Regions from separate parts of the Homo sapiens genome. Here regions 1, 2 and 4 are each linked to region 3. Evidence: promoter capture Hi-C in 16 types of primary human blood cells and fetal thymus (Javierre and others, 2016). All regions are on one chromosome and are shown on one strand. Each heading gives the region's core, a stretch centred on a gene start or on the middle of the fragment in contact. The rest is flanking DNA. Distances are from core to core; before and after follow the strand shown.

Evidence for each region. Contacts are between HindIII fragments. The CHiCAGO score rates a contact against its expected background, and 5 or more counts as called.
Region 1: a contact is called between the fragment with the promoter of TXLNG here and the fragment with the promoter of EIF1AX-AS1 in region 3, in 1 of 17 cell types (naive CD8 T cells). The highest score is 5.4, in naive CD8 T cells.
Region 2: a contact is called between the fragment with the promoter of ZFX-AS1 here and the fragment with the promoter of EIF1AX-AS1 in region 3, in 2 of 17 cell types (fetal thymus and total CD4 T cells). The highest score is 7.3, in fetal thymus.
Region 4: a contact is called between a fragment that was not itself captured here and the fragment with the promoter of EIF1AX-AS1 in region 3, in 1 of 17 cell types (fetal thymus). The highest score is 5.2, in fetal thymus.

Annotation. Positions count from the first base shown.
Region 1 is chrX:16,784,677-16,790,678 of GRCh38, reverse strand. TXLNG (taxilin gamma) reads right to left here and starts at 4,213. Exons shown (of 10, transcript NM_018360.3): 1 at 4,090-4,213. The coding sequence starts at 4,191. It overlaps LOC124905250 (a long non-coding RNA gene), which reads left to right and starts at 4,413. Exons shown (of 2, transcript XR_007068398.1): 1 at 4,413-4,609; 2 at 4,716-5,019. RefSeq lists enhancers at 1,371-1,871, 3,914-4,646, 4,618-4,817 and a silencer at 3,428-3,867. The HindIII fragment of the contact is 8,203 bases long and covers 1-6,002 here.
Region 2 is chrX:24,146,186-24,152,619 of GRCh38, reverse strand. ZFX-AS1 (ZFX antisense RNA 1) reads left to right here and starts at 2,966. Exons shown (of 3, transcript NR_046657.1): 1 at 2,966-3,065; 2 at 3,778-3,867; 3 at 6,169-6,395. ZFX (zinc finger protein X-linked) reads right to left here and starts at 2,891. Exons shown (of 10, transcript NM_003410.4): 1 at 2,826-2,891; 2 at 820-929. RefSeq lists silencers at 1,885-2,394, 2,445-2,494, 2,515-2,924, 2,985-3,344 and enhancers at 2,435-3,248, 3,455-3,554. The HindIII fragment of the contact is 5,789 bases long and covers 1,156-6,434 here.
Region 3 is chrX:20,138,420-20,144,384 of GRCh38, reverse strand. EIF1AX-AS1 (EIF1AX antisense RNA 1) reads right to left here and starts at 4,417. Exons shown (of 2, transcript NR_046592.2): 1 at 4,150-4,417; 2 at 3,941-4,050. EIF1AX (eukaryotic translation initiation factor 1A X-linked) reads left to right here and starts at 2,547. Exons shown (of 7, transcript NM_001412.4): 1 at 2,547-2,760; 2 at 5,763-5,846. The coding sequence starts at 2,745. RefSeq lists enhancers at 2,436-2,485, 2,546-2,815, 3,146-3,305. The HindIII fragment of the contact is 4,524 bases long and covers 318-4,841 here.
Region 4 is chrX:15,672,970-15,679,051 of GRCh38, reverse strand. CA5BP1-CA5B (CA5BP1-CA5B readthrough) reads right to left here and starts at 3,594. Exons shown (of 12, transcript NR_160544.1): 1 at 3,274-3,594. It also overlaps a transcript of CLTRN not described here and the pseudogene CA5BP1. RefSeq lists enhancers at 3,519-3,638, 3,311-3,929, 4,162-4,665. The HindIII fragment of the contact is 2,652 bases long and covers 3,139-5,790 here.

The DNA of each region.
Region 1 (6,002 bases), core at 2,964-5,463, 3.4 Mb after region 3:
GTTAATTTGGGCCTAGGTACCTTGTATTATCCTTCCACATGGTTTATGGACCTAAAAATTAGTTTAATAGTAGTTAAATAATTTTTAACATTCCCAAGCAAAAATCTAGTAAAGAAAAAAAATACCAACCTTAGACAAGCTGGAAAAGGCAAAACTATGGAGACAGTAAAAAGATCAGGCCAGGTGTGGTGGCTCATACTTATAATTCCAGCACTTTGGGAGGCCAAGGCAGAACGATCGCCTGAGCCTAGGAGTTCAAGACCAGCCTGGGCAACATAGCAGGACCCCCAACTCTAAAATTTAAAAAAAATAAAATCAGTGGCTGTCAGTAGTCTAGGGGAAGGGAGAGAGGGATGAATAGGTAGAGCACAAGGGATTTATAGGACTGTGAAACTCTTCTGTGTGATACTATAATCGTGGATCCATGTCACTACACATTTGTCAAAATGCATAGAATATATAGCACCAGAGTGAACCCTAACGTAAACTATGGACTTAGTCAATAATAATATAGCAATATTGGCTCATGAATTTTAACACAAGTATCACACTAATGCAAGATGTAAATAATAGGGGATAAGGGTCGGGCGCAGTGGCTCACACCTGTAACCTCAGCACTTTGGGAGGCCGAGGCGGGCAGATCACCTGAGGTCAGGAGTTTGAGACTAGCCTGACCAACATGGAGAAACCCCGTCTCTACTAAAAATACAAAAAAAATTAGCCGGGCGTGGTGGCACATGCCTGTAATCCCAGCTACTTGGGAGGCTGAGGCAGGAGAATTGCTTGAACCCGGGAGGCGGAGGTTGTGGTGAGCCAAGATCATGCCATTGCACTCTAGCCTGGGCAACAAGAGCGAAACCCCATCTCAAAAATAATAATAATAATAGGGGGAAAGGGTGTGTGTGAGGGGGTATATGGAAACTGTACTTTCTACTCAATTTTTCTGTAAAACTAAAAACCATTCCCAAAAAAAGTCTATTAATTTTTTTTTAAATCAACCTTATAAAGCAAATTCTACATAGGGATTTAGGAAGTAAAACGAATGAGCCTGATGTTCTAAAAAATGCCTGACATACTAGATATTGTGTACTCATCTTTTTAGACCAATGCTGATAAAATTTTTATGCAATGATGAAAATATTCTAGATCTGCTCTAATACAGTAGCCACTAGCCACACTGGCTACTGAATACCTGAAACTTGGTTAGTATAACTGAAGAAAAAAATTTTTAATTTTAATTTTAGTTAACAAATTTAGCTACATGTCACTAGTGGCTACTATCAGCACAGTTTTAGAAAATTCCTGAAGAGACCCCTAGTAATGTACTGTAACATTACCTTTAGAAGCAAAAGGTTACCTCAAGAGACCATTCAAATGGTTGTAGTTATGAAACAATGCCACAATTAACTGAGCAGGTCGCGAGTGACTAGGCAGATGGTTAAAGCAACCAGGAACCAAAAAAGCCCATCTCCAATTGTTCCTCACTTCAGGTCCCATAATGTAACTAGATAATGACAAAACACTCACTTTTCTTTTAATTCTTTCAATATTTTCAAAAAACTCAATTCATTAAACATTTCTGCTTCCTGAAAAAAAGGATAGAAGTTAAGCTGGAATTAAGAAATATTTTTTCAAGTCAGTGACCCAAAAGAAATTTTAAAATTAAGGGACACAATGAAGTAATGTAAAAATGATTTTTAAAAAAATTTTTGGCCAGTTGCAGTGGCTCATGCCTGTAATCCCGCCACTTTGGAAGGCCAAGGTGGGTGGCTTACCTGAGGCCAGGAGTTCAAGACCAGCCTGGCCAACATGGTGAAACCCTGTTTCTACTAAAAATATAAAAATTAGCTGGGCGTGGTAGCACACATCTGTAATCCCAGCTACTCAGGAGGCTGAGGCACGAGAATCGCTGGAACCCACGAGGTGGAAGATGCAGTGAGCCAAGATTGCATCACTGCACTGCAGCCTGGGTAACAGAGCAAGACTCTGACTCAAAAAAAAAAAAAAAAAACACAACAAGTTTGTTTGTTTTTTTAAGAGACAGGGTCTCACTCTGCGGCCCAGGCTAGCCTCCTGCTTCAGTCTCCTGACTAGGTGGTACTACAGGTGCATGCCACCATAGCTGGCTTAAAAATGATTCTTGCAAACACAAGATAATTCACCCAATTTGTTAAATGAAAATTCAAAGATTAATATTTTACCATGTATTTGAATGCCGTCACTGTCAGTTAGAAATCAAAAAGAAAAAGATGCTCAGAAGAGCATAAGCAAAGAAGAATGGAGTATGAGGTACATAAACAAAAATGAGTAGACACACACATGACTATTCCTATCCAGCTGTTAACCAGAGCTCTGCACCTCAAAGGGTCATTACCTCCTATCTTGGTTATTTTAAATGCTAGTTGATTAAACCTCAGTTCCTAATTCAACGACTTTTTGTCCTTATCCCAGTGTCATAAAAGGGAACTTATATCCTCAATTGCAGTGGCTTTTTATCAGAGTCCTCCTCCCCTGGGGAACCTACGAAATCAAACACTGAGATTGGCACTCCACCCTTAGGGAATAAGTGAAGTGTCCAAAGTGATGGTGTTGAATCCCTTACAGGACATTGGTCCACAGCTTCTTTTTCAGTCCTGCAAGCACTGGATCTTTCTTTTAGAATACAAAGAGAGGGAGAGAAAGAAAGAGAGGTAATTGAGAAGTAGTAACACTGTCATGCAGAAACATGAAAATACCTGACCTTAGAAACAGGCCCCAAAAAGCTAATTCTTAACACTCTGCTCAGACGTAAACTGGACCTTTGTTCTCCCATTTGAAGTTTATGAATTGCATTAGAAAAATATTATTTCGTAATTTCATACAGGAGTTAAGAGTGTTCAAATACATAATTAAGTAATATTAAATAGCCCTCGGTGATCAAGCAAGATATCCAACAAGTCGAACGTTTCAGTATGTTCACCTGCAAGGAAAAAAAGAGATGGGGTTCCCACCTTCCCAGTCTCAGTCCCCGCAATTATCCATTCCAGGGCCCCGAAAACCCTGTACCCCGTTCGTTGTGCAATCTTTTTCAAACTCCACCCACTGAGCTCCAGAACAAGTGGAATTGTCCCGTTCTGAAAGAGGTCTCAATTTTCCTGTATCTAGGGAGGGACTGAAAACTCCTTGACGTGAGTCAAGTAAGGCAAGGGGAACAGTCCGGCCTGTTTCCCAGATTAAGAAAGACCCAAGGCCAGGGTCGGGAAGGCATTCAAGTTTCCACTCATCAAATTAAAAAAATAATAAATGAAAGAAAAAAAAGAGGGGAAAAAAGAGGAGGGTGGTAAATAGGACTGGGAGGACCAGCTATCATGCGATATCCCAACTCTGCAGGACCGAGGTCCTCCAGCATCGCCTCCCCATCCATCCCCGGCCCCACGTGCAGCCAAGCCCTCGGAGCCCCGGGGTCTAGGTCCCGGGGGCCGAGCGTCCCGCTCGCACCGGCCCTGCGACACTCACCCGCTCGCCTGCCCGCCCGCGCAGTGGCGGGGAGCGCAGGGGGGCGGGGGAAGGGGGGCCAAGCACACCCCGGCTCCCGCGCGGTTATCTTACTGCGCAACAGCCTAGCCTGAGCAGCCCGGGGGCACCCCGCAGCGCGCCCTGCGCACCTGCCCGACGCCAGGAGGGCGAGCCCACGACCCCAGCGAGCCCCCGGACGGCGGCGCTCAGCGCCGGGAGCACGGTGACGGCGGTGACTGGGAGAAGGAACGCCTGGCGCCCGGATCCCCGCGGTGCTGGCCGCACGTGGCTGTCACACCTGGCGCACCCCCGCCTCGCACCCCTTCTCCCTTAGAACCGCGTGCGCCCCCTGCCCTCCCTCCCGGCTTCCCCGCCGCGCGCCGCCAAACCCCAACCGTCGTCCCTTCCCACCCCATCCATCGCGGTCCCACCCCCCCCCACCTGCTCCCACTGTCGTCACCCCCGGGAGGGAAGAAGACCGGATGTTCGTCCCGTGGCTATAGGTAACCAGGGAGAGAGAAGAGGTGGACCCTGAAAAAGGGAGCCCAAACATCCCCCGGGCCCGACAACAACGAGGGCGTCCCCCTGACTGACCTTCTGCCGCGGGCTGCGTCGCCGTCCGCCCCGTCCGGCCTCAGTCGCCTCTTCGGCGCCGCCGCCTCTTCCCCGCGCTGCCTCCTCTACCCGCGTCGCCATGAGGTGACGGCAGCAGCCAAACAAGCGGCCCGACAAGGGGCACAGAATCTCGCAGGGCCTTTCGCCCCGCCCCCGAGCCCCCACGACCAATCGCCGCATGTGAGACTTCCCACGTGACCGGAGGAGGTTGGCCCCCGAGGGGACGGAGCGAGATGGGGATGGGGAGCATTGAATACTGGGCTGGGCTTCAGCAAGACCGAAGGGCAGATAGAGGCCGTGTGAGTCTGCGCGGATCGGGAATGGGACTCGGGAGTGGACTACAAGTCCCAGCAGGGCGTGCGGCCACAGCTCGCAGGCTCGGATCGGGATTGGGACATAAGGCGGCGTTCTGAAAAGGGGAGAGTGCTGCACCCAGTGTGCTTCGTGTGCATCCTAGTGGGACTTGCGGTTTCTGGGGGCGATGTCTGGCTATAGGAAGGTACTCGTTATGATCTTTCGCGGAAAGTTTAGAAATATCCCCGTGTTTGAGAAGGAGCACGATCGGCGACACATTCTTGTGTTTTTGTTTTTGTTGCCGTTCTTAGGAATTGGGCGCGAATGATTTGGGGATAAGGGAAAATACTTCACGACTTTCAAGACGGAAGGTGTATTGGCTCTTAGAATTTGAAGTTTCGTGCTCGGGCACCTGCCCCGAGCCCTGCCCCTCCACCAGAGTTGTTACCACGGTTTACTTGTCCCGAGCTCCCGCGGGATAGGTGCCGCATTCTATTCACCTTGGTTGAACCGCCCCGGCTTCTGCACACTTACTTGGCACTTCATTCATGTTGAATGTATCCTGCTTTCTCCCACCCCATTTACTCGTTTCATTACCTAAATTTTTTCAACAAACTCGGTTTGCTGAACCGAATTTTTTTTTTTATTGATATGATGTTGGGGGGGAGAGGGGAGATTTCCTCAGGAATATTCCCTATTTCCATCTGATGGAACCAGATCTCCAATGGCCGAGCTTCTGAAAGGCACAGACCATCATGAAATCCTGATATATTGTCTTAAATAATTCATTATGAGGCCGGGCGCGGTGGCTCACGCCTGTAATGCCAACACCTTGGGGGACCGAGGCGGGTGGATCACAAGGTCAGGAGTTCCAGACCAGCCTGGCCAACACAGTGAAACTCCGTCTCTACTAAAAATACAAAAATTAGCCGGGCATGGTGGTGGTGGTGGGCTTTTCTTTTTTCTTTGTTTTTGTTTTCCCAAGACGGAGTCTTGCTGTCACCCAAAGCTGGAGTGCAGTGGCACGATCTCAGCTCACTGCAACCTCCGCCTCCCAGGTTCAAGCAATTCTCCTGCCTCAGCCTCCCGAGTAGCTGGGATTGCAGGCACGTGCCACCACGCTGGGCTAATTTTTGTATTTTTAGTAGAGAGAGGGGTTTCACCATGTTGGCCAGGCTGGTCTTGAACTTCTGACCCCCTGATCTGCCCTCCTCGGCCTCCCAAAGTGCTGGGATTACAGGTGTGAGCAACCGCCCCCAGCCGGTGGTGGGCTTCTGTAATTCCAGCTATTTGGGATCTGAGACAGGAGAATCGCTTGAACCCGGGCAGCAGAGGTTGCAGTGAGCCAAGATCGTGCCATTGAACACTCCAGCCTGGGTGAGGAGAAACTCCATCACACACACACACACAAAAGTAAGTTATTCCTCAAAAAAAAATTTTTTTTTAGAGATGGGGCATTATGTTGCCCAGGCTGGTTTCAAATTTCATGATTTTCTATATTGTTTAAGTATGTATGGAATGAAAAAAATCAATAAAGTTATCTTTATTAAGGAAAGAGGCCGGCCACGGTGGCTCACGCCTGTAACCCCGGCACTTTG
Region 2 (6,434 bases), core at 1,717-4,216, 4.0 Mb before region 3:
ATGCAATGCACTGTTTCTCGAACTTTTCTAAACCATAGCCCTTTATAATAAACATGAGACTCTCATTCCCTCCAGCCCTTTCATGGAGCACCGCTGCTCACGACCTGTTACAGTCTAGAAAAATGGAAAAACTGAAAATGGGTATCTATGCCACCTAAAGGTTTCCATCATAAAATTCTAGGAAACAGGCAGGGCACGGTGGTTCATGCCTGTAATCCCAGCACTTTGGGAGGTCAAGGCAGGCAGATCACTTGAGGTCAGGAGTTCGAGACCAGCCTGGCCAACATGAAACCCTGTCTCTACTAAAAATACAAAAATTAACCAGGCATGGTGGCAGGGTCCTGTAGTCCCAGCTACTCGGGAGGCTGAGGCAGGAGAATTACTTGAACCCGGGAGGCAGAGGTTGCAATGAGCCAAGATCACACCACTGCACTCCAGCCTGGGCGACAGAGTGAGATTCAGTCTCAAAAAAAAAAAAAAATTACCACGGGAATACTCATTTCTCATTTTCGTCAAATAACCCACAGCACTAGTCCTGTACTTTTCAACCATGGTAAATGAAATGTTAGAAACCCCTCCCTATTTGTGTACCATAGAAATTCTGACAACTCTGAGCAAAAGATTATTTCGGATGAGAAATCAGGATAGAAAAAAGGAGCAGCTGTCTTAATAGAGACGCATCGTTCCAAAAGTAGCAAAATTTGCTTAACTTCTGAACATTCTTGTAATCGTTCTGATAATGAAAACACTGATCAACTTACTACTCTCATTATTTTTCAACTTTGAAACTTTTCCTAGTCCAATGGAACTACTAAGTACCGTAAAGCACAGCTCAGGGAACAGACGGCAGTGACAGGCGGGCAGTGGGAGGCGGGAGAACGGCTTGAGCCCAGGAGTTCGAGACCAGCCTGGGGCAATATAGCAAGAACCTGTCTCAAAATAAAAAATAAGTAAATAACAAGGTGCAGCTCAGGTGTGCCATCACTCTTCTAGTTGAGGGCACCCCCGCTGCCTACCCCATTGAGTATAAGCCCCTCCACCTGGCAAGCAAGCCCTTCTGCAATCTAACTTTTCTAGCCTGAATTCCCACCACTCCCCTACCTATACCATCCACTTTTGCCAAACTGTAAATACTTACTGTTTACTGAAGAAGCTTCACCCTTGAAACGTCCTTTCTCCACCTCCACCTCTACCTAACAAAGTCCTACCCATCCCTCGGTAACCTTCTCAAAATGCCACCTATTAATACTTCAGGAACCCGTCCCTCCCTGATCCTCCAATGGCAACCTTGCTTCCCTCGGAAATCCCAGTAATTAGTTGTACCTCTCACTTTACTGCATTTCACCTTGCCCCACCTACCTCTAAACATGAGACTTCTTGCAGCCACCGTCTGCATTACAAGAACCTTTTTAATGTTTCTTAGCATCTAGCACGGTGCATCGCTAACAGTAGGCTCCGAGTTTATCAAGAAAGTTGCACAGTGTGCAATCAAAAAAGTACGTTAGGGGATGAAACTCCGCCTTAAAACTTCACAAATGAAAAATCGAAATACCATGACAGGCAAATGCACAATAAATATGCACCACACTAAGTTGTCCTCCAATAAGAAAATAAAAAAGTCTGCCCTTATTCCTCGATTTAAAAAAATACCACCAACAGATCACTACTTAAATCGTTTTTCAAGAAAGTTGTTTCCACATAAATGAGTACGAATGATTCAAAATTTTATTCCTCCGCTCTCGTGTTGTGCAATTTTTTTCCCTATAGGACAAAAGAATGGCAAAAACTTTCCCATCAATCTTTATTTTTCTTCCTTTATTCAGATACTCGGGGCGGCAAAGATTGTTGGAAAAACAACTGCATCGAAAGCACCTTAGCAGCCACATATGATTTGACTTAAGCAAAAATAACATTTCCTGGGGTCCCGTATGCCCTGGTAAGCCCAGGTGTCCGGAATGCCACCTGCCCCGACTGCCCTCGGGTGGCTACAGGCGCGGGGGAAGGCGCAGGGCCAGGGGCGCTGAGGGTGAAACGGTCCCGGCGTCCGGGCGGCGGCGGTGGCCGCCTGCGGCAGCTCAGCTGAAACGCAGCGGAAACTGCAGCCAGTCACGGGGCTGCGGGAGGCAAGGCAGGAAGGTGGCGCTGCCGCCGAGCGCCTGGAGCCCGAGCGCTCATCATGGCGGCAAGGGCAATGGCCGCCACGGGGAGCGAGCACGCCCCTCCGCGCGCACACGCCGCCGCGCCGGGCCTCCGGGGCCCGTCACCGGCGCCGCTGCCGCCGCCGCCCGCTCTCCCACCCCCCCTCACGGGCTGTAGCGGAATTTTCTCTCCAGACACCGCCTCCAAGATGGCGGCTCCCCCTCCCGGCAACCCCCTCTATCGTCCCCTGCAGCAGGCGCCGAGCCGCCGCCATCTTGTCCCCCGTCCCTCCCCCCCCCTCACCGATATTTACATAGCGAAAATCGGCCCGGCCGGCCTGCGGCCTTCACCTCACGCCTGCAGCCTTCGCCTCCTCGCCAGGCCTCACCCCGGCGCGGTGCCCCAGGTCGGCCGCGGAGCCGACCCGGGGCCCCTCGACCGCCTCCGGCACAACCGGGCGACCCTCCCCCAACCCCCGCCCGCTTACGGAGCGCGCCTCCGCCGCCGCTCGGGGCAGCCGGGCTCCTCCCCGGGCCTAACTGCGGCCTCCTCGGGGCCTGCTCGGCGCCGCGCGCCACGCCGCCCGGCCTAGCGCGGGAGGGCGCCTTGCGGGCCGCCGACCAGGCCGAGACCAGGCCGCTGTGCGCGCACTAGGCCCCGCGGCCGCGGCGGCACCCGGGACTCACCGGACGGACGTGCGGGCGGCCGGCGACGGTGGCGGGTGCTGCAGGCCGGCCTTTCTCTGGAGCACTGGGCCGGGCTCCGGCTGGTGGGGCGGGCGGAGGGAGGGAGGAGGGGCCGAGCTCGGAGCTGACAAAAAGCGGCCCAGCTCCCCGGCACGGGCCCGCCGTCAGCACGTCACGTCACCGCCCGGGAGAGAGACCCAGGAAAATGCGGAAGGGTAGACAGGCCCCCTCCTCCGCCCGGTGGGTCCTCCTGGCACCCCGTGTCGGCGCCGCTCCCGCCCCGCGACCGGGGAGCCCAGTGGCCTCGCTGCGGCGGGGTCTCCGGCGGCCGGAGTCTCCGTGACAGCGCCCCCCTTCTTTCCACCTCCTCCGCGCTCCCGCCCGCCGCCGCCACACACGCGCCGCTGCCGCCGCCGCCTCGGCCGTAAAGCCCGCGCGGGGCCGCGGTCGGCCGACCCCGCGGAGAGGCAGGCGGCCCGGCCGCCCCCCACCATGTCCCGTGGGCCGCGGCCGCCCCCCGGGGGCCTCCCTGGAGACCTACCGCCTCTCGCGCCGGTCCTGGCCGAGGCTCCAGCTCGAGTTGTTTGCAGGCCCTCAGACCCCCGCCCGCAGTAAATGTGTTTTCTTCATCCCCGTGGCTGGGGAGGAAGATAAATTTAGCAACCCCCGCCGTCCCCTGCCTTCGCTTAAAAAAAAAAAATCTTTGAAATAAAATGAAAACGGGCTTGCCAGTCTAAATGGGTGTGCGGGAAGGGGGGTGGAGTGGGGGGAGAAGGGTTATCCCTAGAGCACCTACCAGGCCGTCTACTTTTTAAAAATAAGCAGTCAGAGCCAAACTGATTTTATTAGTTTGTACGGGGGAGGGAGATGAGCAAAGTTGCATTTTGAAACGTTTCGCACGTTGCAAAGAACAGGAATTTTCTGTGTATTTTCCTATGTACCCGTGTTTCAGAGCTTGGGAGCCTGTGAAATGTAAGACTGGTGTCATCGTTTCATAAATCATGAATTTTCCACATTCCTTAATAGAGAGGAGCCCAATTGGGTATGGATTTTTTTTTTTTTAAACACACTGCTTAAACAAGCCTTTTGAAGTTTCAAAAGACTTGGGAGAGAAGGGGAAAATGATTAAACAGCACTTACCAACTTCAAAAATGTGTATTTCGCACTTTACTTAGTTTAAATGTTTATGCTATCTTTCCATGCTGAACTTGGAACCCAAACTCTGTTTTAAAGTTACTAGGGAAAAGTTAAATAGTGGAGTCTTTACATTAATCTGGAATCTGGCATGCTATCCTTTAACACAGCACTAAATGTTAAAGGCATTTTTAAACAATAAGAAACACAAAAATTATAAAGCAAATAGTATACTGGTGTGAAATCTCTTTAAATACAGAGGCCACGTATTTTAGTTGCCTGACATAACTCTTTAAAACTCCCAGAATGCAATTTGTCCCTTCCCTCAGACATCTCTCAATCACAAATGCTTTCAAAAAGGAAAAACAAAAGTAGAGTAAGAAGAAATCTCTGAGCATGCACTGGATGATAATTTTCCTCTCGGGGCTTTAGTCTGAATTTTTCCAAGCGATTAAATTTCCTTTCAAAAATAGTAACAGCATGTATTCATTGTTTATAAAAATTACATCAGGCTGTGATAGACTTTCACAGAAAGACATTTCACAGAAAGGTAAATGAAACTAAGCAATGTTGTTTCAATAAAAAAAAATGAGAAATAGCTTGTGTGCCCACATTAATATTTCTTGCACTCCCAGACTGGAGTGCAATGGCGTGATCTTGGCTCACTGAACCTCTGCCTTCGGGGTTCAAGCGATTCTCCTGCCTCAGCCTCCCGAGTAGCTGGGATTACAGGCACTTGCCACCACGCCTGGCTAATTTTTCTATTTTTTTAGTAGAGATGGGGTTTCACCATGTTGGCCAGGCTGGTCTCCAACTCCTGACCTCAGGTAATCCACCCGCCTCGGCCTCCCAAAGTGCTGGGATTACAGGCGTGAGCCACCGTGCCCGGCCGCCCACATTAATATTTCAAAACATTGATAATCAGCGTTTAAGTACTTTCCAAGGGCCTCAGTGTGATGCTACGGTATGGCAAGAATGGAGGCCAGGTTCCCTGGTTCAGTCCTGTAATCACAGCACTTTGGGAGGCCGAGGCGAGAGGATCACTTGAGCCCAGGAGTTCAAGACTAGCCTGGGTAACATGGTGAGACCTCGTCTCTATTAAAAAAAAAAAAAAAGAAGAAGAATAGAGCCTCACTTCATCCATGCAACTGTAAGCAGCATGTTCAAGACAGAAAAACCTAATGTCACCATTCTTGTTAGTTTTTCCATAATTACCATCAAAAATACTTATACATCCACCAGTGTAAAGCACTTAAGAAAACAGTGTCCAAGGAGCATGAAAGAAAAAGAAGTTTTCTCAGTTTAAAAGATCACAAGTAGTTTAGGGATTGATACTTTCAAAGAGCCCTTTGTCATTACTTTTCATACAGGAAGAGACTGTTAACTTTGGTGGGAAACAAAGAAAGGATGGCCTAGTTCTATTAGATTAGATAAACCTTTATTAAAGTCCAGCAAACTTTATAAAGTCCAGTTATTTTATAGATGACTATACAGATAAGGTCAACTATATTTTTTTTAGTTAAAAAAAGGTAAAGTTGTACTTTAAGCCCATTTATGGAAGTCTGTAAAGAACATTGTTTAACTGGTAAAAGAACAATGGTAAAAATCATTTCACTAGAAGTACACTTAGTATTATACTCATGATAAAGTGAAGATGAAAAGGAAGTGTAAACAGCAGAGATCAGAAATTGTTTGATGTGACAAAATACAAAATGCATTTTATGAAAGTACTCACAATAGGACCTTGAGGACACCTAAGATCCTTGAAAGCATTTGGTAATTAAGCACCAGACATCTTGCACTTAAAGGACCTACTGCAGCCTATCTTGCCTTGATAATTGTTTTCGTATTAGGGACCTTTAGAATTCTGGGCACAGGAAGTAACAAAGATGTGCTTGCCCTTGGGGAACTCGAATAAGGAGGCTGTGTAAGGCAAAATAAAAACATTCCTAAGTACTTTCATTTTCTCACTTAAGTAAACATAATAAAAGGAAATTTTATCTAGGGAGGTCGAGAGCAGAACATTTCAAAAGAGAATGCTATGAATACAAAATAGCTGGTTTCAAAGCAGTAAAAGGAATTTTGATTACGTGCTAAAATGTATTTGTTCCTTCAGAGCTGTTAATGTACATCAGATAGTTAAAAGCATTTACTCAAGGTTTTGACAGTGTTTTAATAAATTAACTAAAAATCTCTGACATGTTTATAGGTCCTTGAGCCAGAAACGATAGAAGGCCTTTCAATCATTTTTCCAGAGAAAGATTAGTCAGAAAAGAAGCTGTTGATTTTCACTCCACATCGGAGACTGATGGGAATTCAAATAAGAAGCAATAAATTATTGGCTTATGAGAAAATGTAGACCTTCTTGAATAAAGTTGTGGTAATTCTTTTTTTTTTTTTGTATCCCAAACATTAAAAAATATTTATCTTCCCCTAGAAAGGCCCTAGTTTTATTGAACTAAGCATGCCCTACAA
Region 3 (5,965 bases), core at 3,168-5,667:
TCTTGTTGCCCAGGCTGGAGTGCAGTGGCGCGATCTTGGCTCACTGCAACCTCCGCCTCCTGGGTTCAAGTGATTCTCCTGCCTCAGTCTCCCAAGTGGCTGGGACTATAGGCGCCTGCCACCATACCCGGCTAATTTTTGAATTTTTGAGTAGAGATGGGGTTTCACCATTTTGGCCAGGCTGGTCTCGAACTCCTGACCTCAGGTGATTCGCCCACTTCGGCCTCCCAAAGTGCTGGGATTATAGGTGTGAGCCACTGCGCCTGGCCGGTTAGTACTATTCCTACATCCAATTTACAGATGAGAAAACGGAAGCTTGTAAAGAGATTAAAACTTGCCCAAGAAAATAGAGTAATAAGTTACTGCAGAGCTTGAATTTGAACCCAGGCCTCTCTAACTCCAAAGCTCAAGTTCATAATTATTTGACCTTGGAGCAAAATTTAAATAAATTTCATAAAAAATCCTTTCATCCTCAATTATGTAAATTGAAAAATATTGCAGATAGAAAGAGAAACCCAGAACTTTGAGTCCCCCATTATCTTTCAATTTCACTCTAAGAAGTGCATCTGTCATTGGGTTTCTCAATATCAGCTCTGCTGATGTTTTGGGCTGGATAATTGTTTGCTTGTATGGGGGAGGGGAGATTGTACTGTGCACTGTAGGATGTTTAGCCGCATCCCTGGCCTCTGCCCACTAGATGCCAGCATCACTGCCCCCCTCCTCAAGTTATGACAACCAGAAACATTTCTGGTTGACGCTGCCAAATGTTCACAGAAAAGAACCACTATATTAGATGATGATACTTTATTTCTGTCTTCTAAGTATGTGCAAACCCTGGTGTTTGTGGAAAGGTGATTTATTTAAAATAAGTTTACTTGGTTTAGTCAAAATAAGTTTACTTAGAAATAAATCTTGTAGAGTACAGCCCAGCATTAGCCAGCTGTATTAGTTTGCTAGGACTGTCATAACAAAGTACCACGTACTGAGTGGCTTAAACAACAGAAATTTATTTTCTCATTGTTCTGGAGACTGAAAGTCTAAAATCAAGCGTCAACAGGGTTGGCCTCTCTCCTGGGCTTATAGATGGCTACCTTCTTGTTCACGTGGTGTTCTCCCTCTATGCCTGTGGCCTAATAATATCTTCTTGTAAGGACACCAGTCAGATAAGGGTCCACACTAATGACCTCATTTCAATTTAATCACGTCTTTGAAGAACTTATGTCCAAATACAGTCACATTGAGTTACTGGGGATTAGAACGTGAACATACGAATTTTGGGGGGGACACAATTCAGCCCATTAACATTGAGCTTAAGTCTTTTCTCCCCTCCCTCCCTTCCTTTCTGTGTGTATTGAACACCTATTATGTGCCAGACATTCAGCTAAGTGGGGGTAATGGTAAGCAACAAACATGGTCTCTGCCCGGTAAGGTTTACAGTGAGGTAGGACAGACAGACTTAAAGAGTAATAACAAGTGCCATGCAAATATTATGCTTTGGTAATGGATGCCAGGAAAGCCTTGCCCTTCCCATCAGGCTCCCAACCCGGCTGGGCGAGTGAAAGGACTGCGTTATGAGCTAACCGGCTGGGCACGGTGGCTGACGCCTGTAATCCCAGCACTTTGGGAGGCCGAGGTGGGCGCGAGTTGAGGTCACGAGTTCGAGACCAGCCTGGCCAACATGGTGAAACCCCGTCTCAACTAAAAGTACTAAAATTACCTGGGCATGGTGGCACATGCCTGTAATCCCAGCTACTCGGGAGGCTGAGGCAGGAGAATCGCTTGAGCCCGGGAGGCGGAGGTTGTAGTGAGCCGTGATCGCGCCACTGCACTCCAGCCTGGGCGATAGAGCAAGACTCCATCTTAATAAAAAAATTAAAATATTGGCCGGGCGCGGTGGCTCACGCCTGTAATCCCAGCACTTTGGGAGGCCGAGACGGATGGATCACGTGGTCAGGAGTTCAAGACCAGCCTAGCCAAGATGCTGAAACCCCGTCTCTACTAAAAACACAAAAATTAGACGGGCGTGGCGGCACGTGCCTGTAATCCCGGCTACTCCGGAGGCCGAGGCAGGAGAATCGCTTGAACCCGGGCGGCAGAGGTTGCAGTGAGCCGAGATCGCGCCACTGCACTCCAGCCTGGGCGACTCTAGAGCAAGACTCCGTCTCAAAAAATAAAATAAAAATAAAAATATACATATTTTTTAAAAACTGAGCTAACCACGAGGTTAACGAGTCAGCCACTTGTGAAACCGGGAGACGCGCGTTTGCTACAAAGCAGCAGAGGTCTGGTCTTAACCAGCAGCAAGCGCCACCTCAACCCGCCCTTTTCTATGACGCAGAGTCTCTCCCCCTCCCTCCCTGACTCCGCCTTTTCCCTGCTTGAGGCCCTGCCCCTCGCGTCCTCTCTGGCTTGCTGCGCACCCTCCCACAACGCGTCTCCCTCGGCTCTAACAATAGGAGTCAGTCGGCCACGCCTGCGTCATAAAGCCTGGGGGCGGGCCCAGCCGGCGACGGGAGGCGGGGAAAAGCGACGCAAAGAGTCGCGGCGCCATTTGCTGCCGCCGAGCGTGGACGCAGGCGGATCTCTGAAGAGCTGGGTCGCCAGCCTCTCCCGCGCACGTTGCCTGGCCTCCAGCACCTACTTGGTCCCGCGCGCTCCCTCGTGTCGCCCCTCGGAGCAGCAGCCGCCGCGGTCGCCGCTACCCGGAAAGAAGTCAGAGACGCCGCGAGGTCGCCGCCACCGCCATGCCCAAGAATAAAGGTAATGCCGCCCGGACCCCCGGACCACGGCTCTGCTCGGCCGGGTCTCCCAGGTCCTGCCCGTAGATTGCAGGTCACCCAGGCCGCAGTGACCCTTTTTCCTTCCCGCCCTGCCTGCCCGCGGCTGGGCGCCCCACACGCGACTCTGAGCTCGGGAGAGGAGCTGGGAAGTTAACTCCTGTTGCCCAGTTTGGTCACATTGGGGTGGAGCCGGCGCCATTTTTGTAGGGCCTCCTGCGGGAGAATGTGGGCTTTTGCTCCTGATTCGCGCCAGACTGACCGCTGCTCGGTGGGGACGGTGGCGGGAACCTTCCCCGGGGCGGCCTAGGTTTAGTAGATAGGCCCCTTTGGCCTTCCCGGGCATGAGGGGTTATAATCCCTGGAAGCCGTTCTGAACTTTCAGAGTGCTGTCTGCATTCGTGAGCACCAGGTACTCCTGCATGGGTTTCTTTATGGACAGTTCAGTATTGTTGAGGCTACTCGCTGTCCCTTGTGAACAGTGGGTGAAACCTTGATACATTTCTAAGGCTCACCTCTAGAGATTTACTCTCTCCATCCCTTTACAGGATATAGCTTATGTTTGTTTGCTGAAGACTTATTCCATATTGAGCCAAGTTTTCTACTTTTGCTTCAGATGATGCATATGTTGTGAGAATAAAGACCTAATTTAAGTGTCCTCCATTCTGAGGCTAAGCGTTCACAAATGATCAGACTTGAGGATAACTTTATTTGGGATTTCCAAAACGGAAGGCCTAATCTTAAAAAAAAAAAAACAAAAACAAAAAACAGAACACTCCTAAAGAAATTACTTTTATAGATTTACAGTGTTCCTGTCATTTTTAATAGCCGTATAACTTGAAGAAAATTGTGCAAGTAAATATAGGGAAAATACTGTATTTTCCTACAGGAGAGGAGCATACTTCATAGTCCGTAAGTAGTCTCCTTTGATTATTCATTCTAGAGGAAACCCTCCCCTGACACAGGCCTACTTCTGCTCTCTTTTCTACTTGACAGCTGGCTCCAGGGATTCTACCACATTTCCTCTTTGTAGCTGTCACTTATTACTTTATCCCTTAGGGTACTTGGTCGAGGTGTTCTGTGCACAAGTTGGTGCAGTCACTGCTCATTATTTTGGAAAAGATGGAGTTATAAACAAAAAATTTTAAAGTCTTACAGTTTTCTTCTGTATAATCCTTTATTCTCTCTGAGGTGGTAAGGGGATCACTTCCATCTTATTCTCACCTTTATTTCTAGTAATAAGATTTCCAATTCTTCCACCAGGCTGTAAGCTCTACAAGGCAGGAATAGTATCTGTCTTAATCTCATTGGATTGCCAGCACTTGACAATTAGTAGATGCTTAATAAATATTTGTTGGTTTAAGTCACCTACCTCCTGTCGACTCCACCCTTAGTGAATAATAGGTTCTGCTTTGGTTCCAAGGGGATAGGACTTCTACACTAAATCACATCTAGTTCCCTAGCCTCATGTCTTAAGAAAGAGCCTCTCTGGGAATTTCTCCAAAACAACTCTGGTTTAAAGAATGTTGATGTCACTTTAATTGTTGTACACTCAGACCTAGTCTCATTCATTCAACAGAGAATTTAAAGAACATCCCATTACATGGCAATAAAATACAAAGGGGAGTGATCCGGGTATGGTTAATTCTGGTAAATTGACAAGTAATTAGTCTTTTCTTAAATAACATTTGAGGCATACAAAAAATACAGCTAACATGATATACCTGGGAACCCATTACTCTGAATTTAAGAATTACAGCGCAGATTGAGGTAAAGCCCTAATCACCTTTTACTCTCTTTTTGGAGGTAATCACCAGGCTGAGTTTGGTGTTTATCATTCCTGTACTGTCTGAAACCAATCAGTTCTTAGTTATCTTACTTAGAGGAATGGTACTTTTCATGACCTAATTTAAGTGTCCTCCATTTTTTTTTGCTGCTTCCAAGCTCTTCCCATGAGTCTCTTAGGGTCATTACCACTTACAGCCTTTTTCCTGCCTTTTGGAAATGGCTGCCAATGTGGTTTCCTTTCTGGAATGGGAGCAAAATGCTGTGGAGAGGTAAGCTTATGTGGGGGCTAGGGGCAAAAAAAACATTGTGACTTTGGTCACCCCAGCTTACTGACTGTAATCAGTGAACTGATTTACTCACTGAAGCTAAGCGACTTACTTAACTTCTCTGAGCTTCAGGGAACTCATGGGTAAACTGGGAATAAATGAATGTTATGACCTCATGGGGTGATTGTGACAAGTAAATGGGCAGAATTATTGCATAGTGGTTAAGAGCATGGTCACTGGGGTCATATAATAGAAACAGGGATGTTGAGTAGGGACCAGCATTATAAAAGAAAGTAAATTGGGTACCGAACAGATCTTCTTTATTTTTTAAGAGACAGTGTCTCGCTATGTTGCCCAGGCTAGCCTGGAACCTCCTGGGCTTGCTCAAGTGATCCTCCCACCTGAGCCTCCTGAGTAGCTGAGACCCTAGGCGCACACCACTGCACCCAGTGAGATTTCAATATTTATGGTACTCTGCTACCAAAAGTTTGAAAACCACAGTTCTCTGTCCAGACACTGTCTTCACTTAATTTTGAAAGTATCGGGTTCCTTGCATAGGGCCTGGCTTTAGAAGACACCCAAGATTTCCGCTTAGAAGAATATGTATAGAATTGCATTTTTATTTCAAAAGGATGGGTGCTAAAGTGAAATGTTTTTCTATATTTTTTAACATAATATCTGCTATTTATGTGTATTTTATGTCAGAAAAATCCCCAAAGGAAATTCCAAGAAGGGTAGGGAGGTGATAATGTGTTAATGTTGGGATTGGAGATTGTAAATTTAATATGATTGTGTAGCTAAAATAGATGAATTTTTTAATTTAAGTGATCTTTTAAAAAATGGTTTTATAAGCCTTAATTTCATTTTATTTCATACTGTTTTACAGATAATTAATGTCATTTACCTCCTTTTCTTTTTTTTAAACCATCAGGTAAAGGAGGTAAAAACAGACGCAGGGGTAAGAATGAGAATGAATCTGAAAAAAGAGAACTGGTATTCAAAGAGGATGGTCAGGGTAAGTGTTTTCATAAATTACGCTTTTTAAAATAACATCCTTTCTTTTTTAGCTGGGGACTTTATTTTTTTGAGACAGCGTCTTGCCCATCGCCCAGGGTGAAGTGTGGTGGCACGATT
Region 4 (6,082 bases), core at 3,215-5,714, 4.5 Mb after region 3:
GTATTTTTTAGATAAGATTAACATTTAAATCAGTAGACTTGGAATAAAGATTATTACCCTTCATGTGGGTGGGCCCTACCCAATCCGTCGAAAGCCTTAAGTTGAAAAAGACAGGTCCCCTGAGGAAGAGGAAATTCTACCTCCAGACTGCCTTTGGACTGGAGCTGTGCCATGGCACCAGTTTGTGCTCACAATCCAGTCTGAATGTGTCCCCAAAGTTCACGTTTTGGAAACTTAATCTGCAACGCAAAAGTGTTGGGAGGTGATTAAATCATGAGGGCCCTCCCCTCATGAATGGATTAATGCCATTATTAGGGGGAGCTGGTTAGTTTCTGAGGTAGTGGGTTCCTGATATAAGGATAAATTTGGCTTCTTTCCCTTCCCTCCCTCCCTCCTTCTTCACCCCCAACCACTCCCACCCCTCACATGCACATGTTCTTGCCCTTCTGCCTTGTGCTATGGGATGATGCAAGAGAGAGCCCTCACTAGATGCTGAGCAGATGCTGGCACCATGCCCTTGGACTTCCCAGCCTCCAGAATCATGAGCCACATAAATTTCTGTTCATTATAAATTATCCAGTGTCAGGTATTCTGTTACAGCACAAAACTGAGTAAGACAGGCTGTAATATCAATTCTTCCCTGGTCTCCAGTCTGCTGGCCTGCACTGCAAATTTCACGAGCCTACATTCACGAGCCAATTTTTAAAAATAAATCTCTCTCTAAACACACACACACACACACACGCACAAGCACACACACAGGCACACCCACACATACATACATACACACACACATATATACACATACACACACACAATTGGTTTTGTTTCTCTGGAGAACACCTAATAAACCTTGCTTCTGGTAATTCCTTGGCTTGTGTCAGCATTAAATCCAATTTTCGTAAGCCATTCTCATCTTGTCTGTGTCCAAATTTCCCTTTTAATTAAGGACACCAGTTATATTGGACTAGTGGTCACCCTAATGACCATAATTACCTTTATACAGACCCAATCTCCATATGAGGTCACATTCTGAGGTACTGGGGCTTAAGACTTAAACGTATATGAGTTTGAGATGGGAGGGTGCAATTGAACTCGTAACAGCCAGTGACACCTAAAGTATGTCTGCGTTGCCTAAAAGGTGCTGACAATTCTCAAACCAAAGTTAAAATCACTTTTGTTTAGTTTTATCTGTGTTTGTGTAAATACAGTTTTTAGTGGGAGTGTGTATGTCAAAATGTCTAAGGAGATGAAAAATCACCTTGTTGAAGCCATGTAAAAAAGTCTGGCTCAGGATTTAAAAGACAGACTGCCAATAAGCTTTCAATATCTTATCTTGATAGTTCCTGCAGCCAGGTAAGAGCATCTGGTTTTTAAATAACTTCACTATCTGAATTCACTTAGCAGGTTTAAACAGCAATAGTCCATGGGTCAACTGAATTTAGAATCTGTTTTCCCCTTATTAGGGCAAACTTCAAACTTGTACAAAAAAATGGTGAGAATAAATCATCTATATATCCAATACTCCATTTCAACAATTACCAGTGTGTGGCTGGATACCGCCTAGGAGAGCTAAGCCTTCTGTGCTACACATCCTTTGCTGTCACTGATTATTCATGTATGCCTTGGATATTACTAACATGTTCTTTTTCTGTTGTTTTGCAGCCTTAGAAATGTGTGAAAAAAGAAAAGATTCTAAAAGTCTTTAAATGTCATTCATAAGTAATGTATTTATTAAATGCCTCATAGCTTGAACTCTGCCTGATTAAGCAACTTATGCGAAAGAGACAGGAAAAGTACTAACAAAAGGTTACAATTATATTGAAAAATTCCTTGATTGGCATCAGATTGACTCTTCATTTTCTCAACTCCTGATTTCAAAAGGAAGCCTGCCTTTTGCAATTTCCTGAAACTTAAATTAGAGATTACGCTGCTATGTCTTAAGAAAGCTTAGCTTCCTCCTCTCACTCACTTCTTCCTTGAGAGTGTGATCCCAATCTGAGGTTGCCAAAGGTTTCAAAATATATTATACCTGATTTGTGTGTTGCAACTAACTGCCCCAGTGTGGCCAGTGACATGATGAATTTCCCTCTTTCCATCAGATTTCCTTAATATTCATATGCAATCACAAGGCACTCAACCTTTATTCCATTGCAACTGTGAGCAGTGGCAGCCTTTTTGCTTGGTTCCAAGCACAGGGCAGCTACGTATAGGCACAGAGAATGGTGCCCTTGCTGTTTCGCCTTTCGGTTAATTCCAGCCCAGGTACTGATTTAAAATAGCCCAGAAAGTTTTTCATTTCCAAAATATTCAAGAACAGTGCAGCTTTTCACTAAGTCCCTGAAGACAGGGGAGGTGGGGTGAACTTTGGTTCATTGTGAACTCTGATGCAGGCTATGAATAGTGACTCCTCTGAGAGATGCGCGGGGCAGCATCTTACCAGAGATTTCTGACTATTCTCCATACTCCAGCAAGACTTTCAAAGTGCATAGTGGAAATGGTCAGATTATCAGTAAAGAAGAAGGGGAAGCAGAAAGCAATGTGGTATTCAGTGGCTAATAAGGAGCATATAAACAAATTAAGGTTTACGCATCTTCGTTAAGTCATTTCCCAAGCTTTTCCAGCAAAAGTAAATGTGAGAGAAGTACACAGATATTAATACTAACGCGTTTCCAGCAGCCTCAGAGCAGCAGCATTTAACGCTGAATATCACACAGAATCCCAGCCACCAAGAATGTCTGCATTTTGGAGGTTCCTCTCCTCCGGCTCTGGGGCAAGGCACAACAGAAAAACTCAGATTTGTCCAAGGGACACAACTGTGCTTTTGATCTACTCTGGGGTGGCTGTGTCTGTCCATAGCCCCTAGCATAGTCAGGTGGGAATATCAACAATGCAGACCCGAGGGAGTCCCAGCTTGCTGCTCCTTGGTTTCTGGACACTCCTCTCATCCCGCAATGTCTCTGGGAAAGCTGTTCTACTTTTTAATAGACAGAATCCTAAAAGGATGTCTGGTGATCCCCATAGCGGAGAAAGAGGGCTAGAGTGGGGAAGTGGCTATTTCCCCGCCGCCAGCCTCCCACTCCCATTCCTCAGAGAAGCCCCGCCAGGGCCCCGGCCAACCTCGCCGCACCAAAAGCTTCTCTGGCTCCAGGGCCGATAGCGGCACGCGGTCATGTTTGCGGCAAGTGGCACAGTTCCTGCCCTCTCAAGCAGACCACGCCCTGCTGCTGCCCACGCTCCTTACTGCCGCCCGCCCTTACCCGAACGACTTACCTGAGCCAGAACCTCCTCGTTCGCTCCCGGTACCCGAGGATCCCGCACGCGGCCATCTTGGCCACGCCCCCTCACGTTTAGCCACGTCCCTACGCAGCAAACGTCATTTCGTCATTCCAGGTTACGCCCCTATCAGTCCCCATTCTGTCCCCGACCCAGGCTGAAATCTCGCCCTGGCCACGCTTCCCCAGCGCCGGAGTCCACACCTGCTCTGCGCTCTGGCTACACATCTCCTGTCGCTGCCACGCGCCTGCACGCTAACTTGCCGACGCCTCTGCCCTCCGCCTGCTCCACCATCTTTGTTACGCCCCTCAGAGCAACAAGGCACGCCCACACGTAAGGACCGCGCCCCCCACGTTCGAGGCACGTCTCTGCGTTCCAACTACGTCATGTCCCTACTTCCCTTTTCGCGCCACCTCCCTTGCCGGTCACTACTCCGCAGCCCGCCTTTCCATCTGTGGCCACTTTTCCACCCTTCGCCCAGTGATCATCCAGTCACAACTAGTCTGCCTACCCCACCTCCCTCCCTTGGGCTCACGTCCCTACTCCGCCTGAGGCCGACCGTCCCGCGAATTCGAATTTCTTTTTTACACCCTTGCGACTACGCCACGCCTTTCACGTAAGGGCTAAAGTCAGCTCGTTCGGGCCACGCCCCTGCGGTACGCCTGGGTCACGCCTCTTCCGCTAAGCCTTGCTGCCTGCGCTCCTCACTGGCGGGGCCGTTCCCGCCGTGGCCGTTCCCACCGTGGCTAACCCCTTCCATTCTCTCGGAACAGGCAAGACCCCTCTGGTCCGCGTCACTTTTCTTACTGCATTCCACACCTCTCTTTTCTGGCCAGTCCTGGCCGTCCTCTCAGGCCACACGCTACAACCTTGTGGTCCTCATTGGCCACTCGCATCCTGCGCATGCGCACTTACCTACCTTCACTTCTGGTCACGCGTTAGGTTCCCAGGCCACCCACTTTTGGTTCCACTCTGGTCACGCCTCTCCCGCCAGTTGCACGCTCTCTGCGCTCCTTTTAGGTGCGATACTTGATCCCGGGAAGCCACGGAGGTGTTGGAGGGGCCCACCAGTCTCCAGAGAGGACTGTCCAGGTCCTGGAACCAGATGTCCGCGGCATTTATAGAGTGAAATGAGCCTGCGGATCTCTGATCCTCTCCTAAAAAGTGACTTTCTCCATGTATCTCCCAACTCTAAACACCACAACTCGTTAAGCAAAAACCGAGTAGGAAACAGAACTGATGGGCCAGTGGTGGAGCAATGTTCCTTCTAGCTAGGTTTCATGTCCTTTAACCCGATATGGAGATAAACTGGAACCGTGTTCCTTCCAGCCCATTTAAAGTCAGCGGACTTTAAATGCTAGGGAGATACATGGAGTAAGCACACTCCTCTACTTCCTGATGTGTCCTCCTGATGACTTTTCCTAGGCACTTGGTGCCCTAATGCTCTCTAGGTCCTGTCTAGACACCACCACATTCAGACCTCTGTTTGCAGCCCCCTGCTCCAAGATTACGCTTTTTTACTCCCTCCATTCGCAATTCTGGGTTCACAGGAAAAAAGTGAGGAGGTTATTACCAGCTTTTCTGTCCAGAAATTTCTGAACGGACATTCTTAGAGGATGGACACTTTCCATTAGCCATTCATTCATTCATTCATTCAAGACAGATTTATCAAGTACTATGTTCCAGTAAGAAATAAGACAAGAGTCAAAGAGATCACAGACTGAGCTTCCCCAACTCAAGTTTAGATGGCACAAGAATTGAGAAAATTAAAGATGGTGTAATAAAGGAGTTGATAGGTGGAAAAGGACTTGATAAGTGCTGGTTTGTTGTTCTAATTAGCAGGAGTATTTTGGGGCAGCAAACATAGGAAGCCACTTACATAGCAGTTAGTACAGCTCCCTTCACAATAAATTCTCAATCTTCATTTAAAGTATTCCCTTTTCACTTGTATAGAGGATTACAATTTTTCCCTCCATGGCAGTGAGATTTACTATATACACTTCTACATATGCCAGTAATCAAGATTTTATGATCACATATAAAGTGTAAAAGTTCCTTTCTCTTCCCACCTTCCATCCATTTCTGCTTTGAAGACAGTGGGAACTTTCACAATATTGAGCTACAAGGAGCACAGAGTAAAAGACAATTTTCAACAAAACATTTTTTATTAAGCTCACCCTGGCTCTGAGAACTCTATCTCATTTATATAAAATGTTGCCAATGCTAATCATTTTTTGCATGAAAAATTAAACACACCGGAAATGGGATCAAGTGCAGCCTGTGTAAATTACTGCATTGATTTTTATAGCATTATTTTCTCCCAGATGATTTGAGGCCGCGTACCAAAATATAGGCAACACTGTATAAAGTAAGTATTATAGTTTAAGGAACCAGAGGGGAAATTCATGGAGGGAGAATAAATAATGTAGCCAATGGTAAGATTAACACTCAAGTATGCACACTTTCAGATCCAGAACAGTTTTTGAAGGTGGGCAAGAGATCTCACTCTAAGCTTCCATAGAAAACAGGAGATAACAAGTATTTTAAAGTTTTACGGTGTTCATAAAAACCAATCAATCAGGATTTTGTTTGCTTTTGAGAAGCACTGTTTGTTTTTTTAAAAATAATTTTTAGCCCCAAGGCAAATCCCAGTTCCTCATCATGATGACGCTGTGAGCTACGTGGGAAATAAGTGTCATAAGTTGTTACACCCACATTCCCTCAATGGAAACTGTTGGCATAATCACAAAGCACAGGGCACTGAATCAATTTCATGAACCATCCAAAATTTCCTGTTCGACTGAGT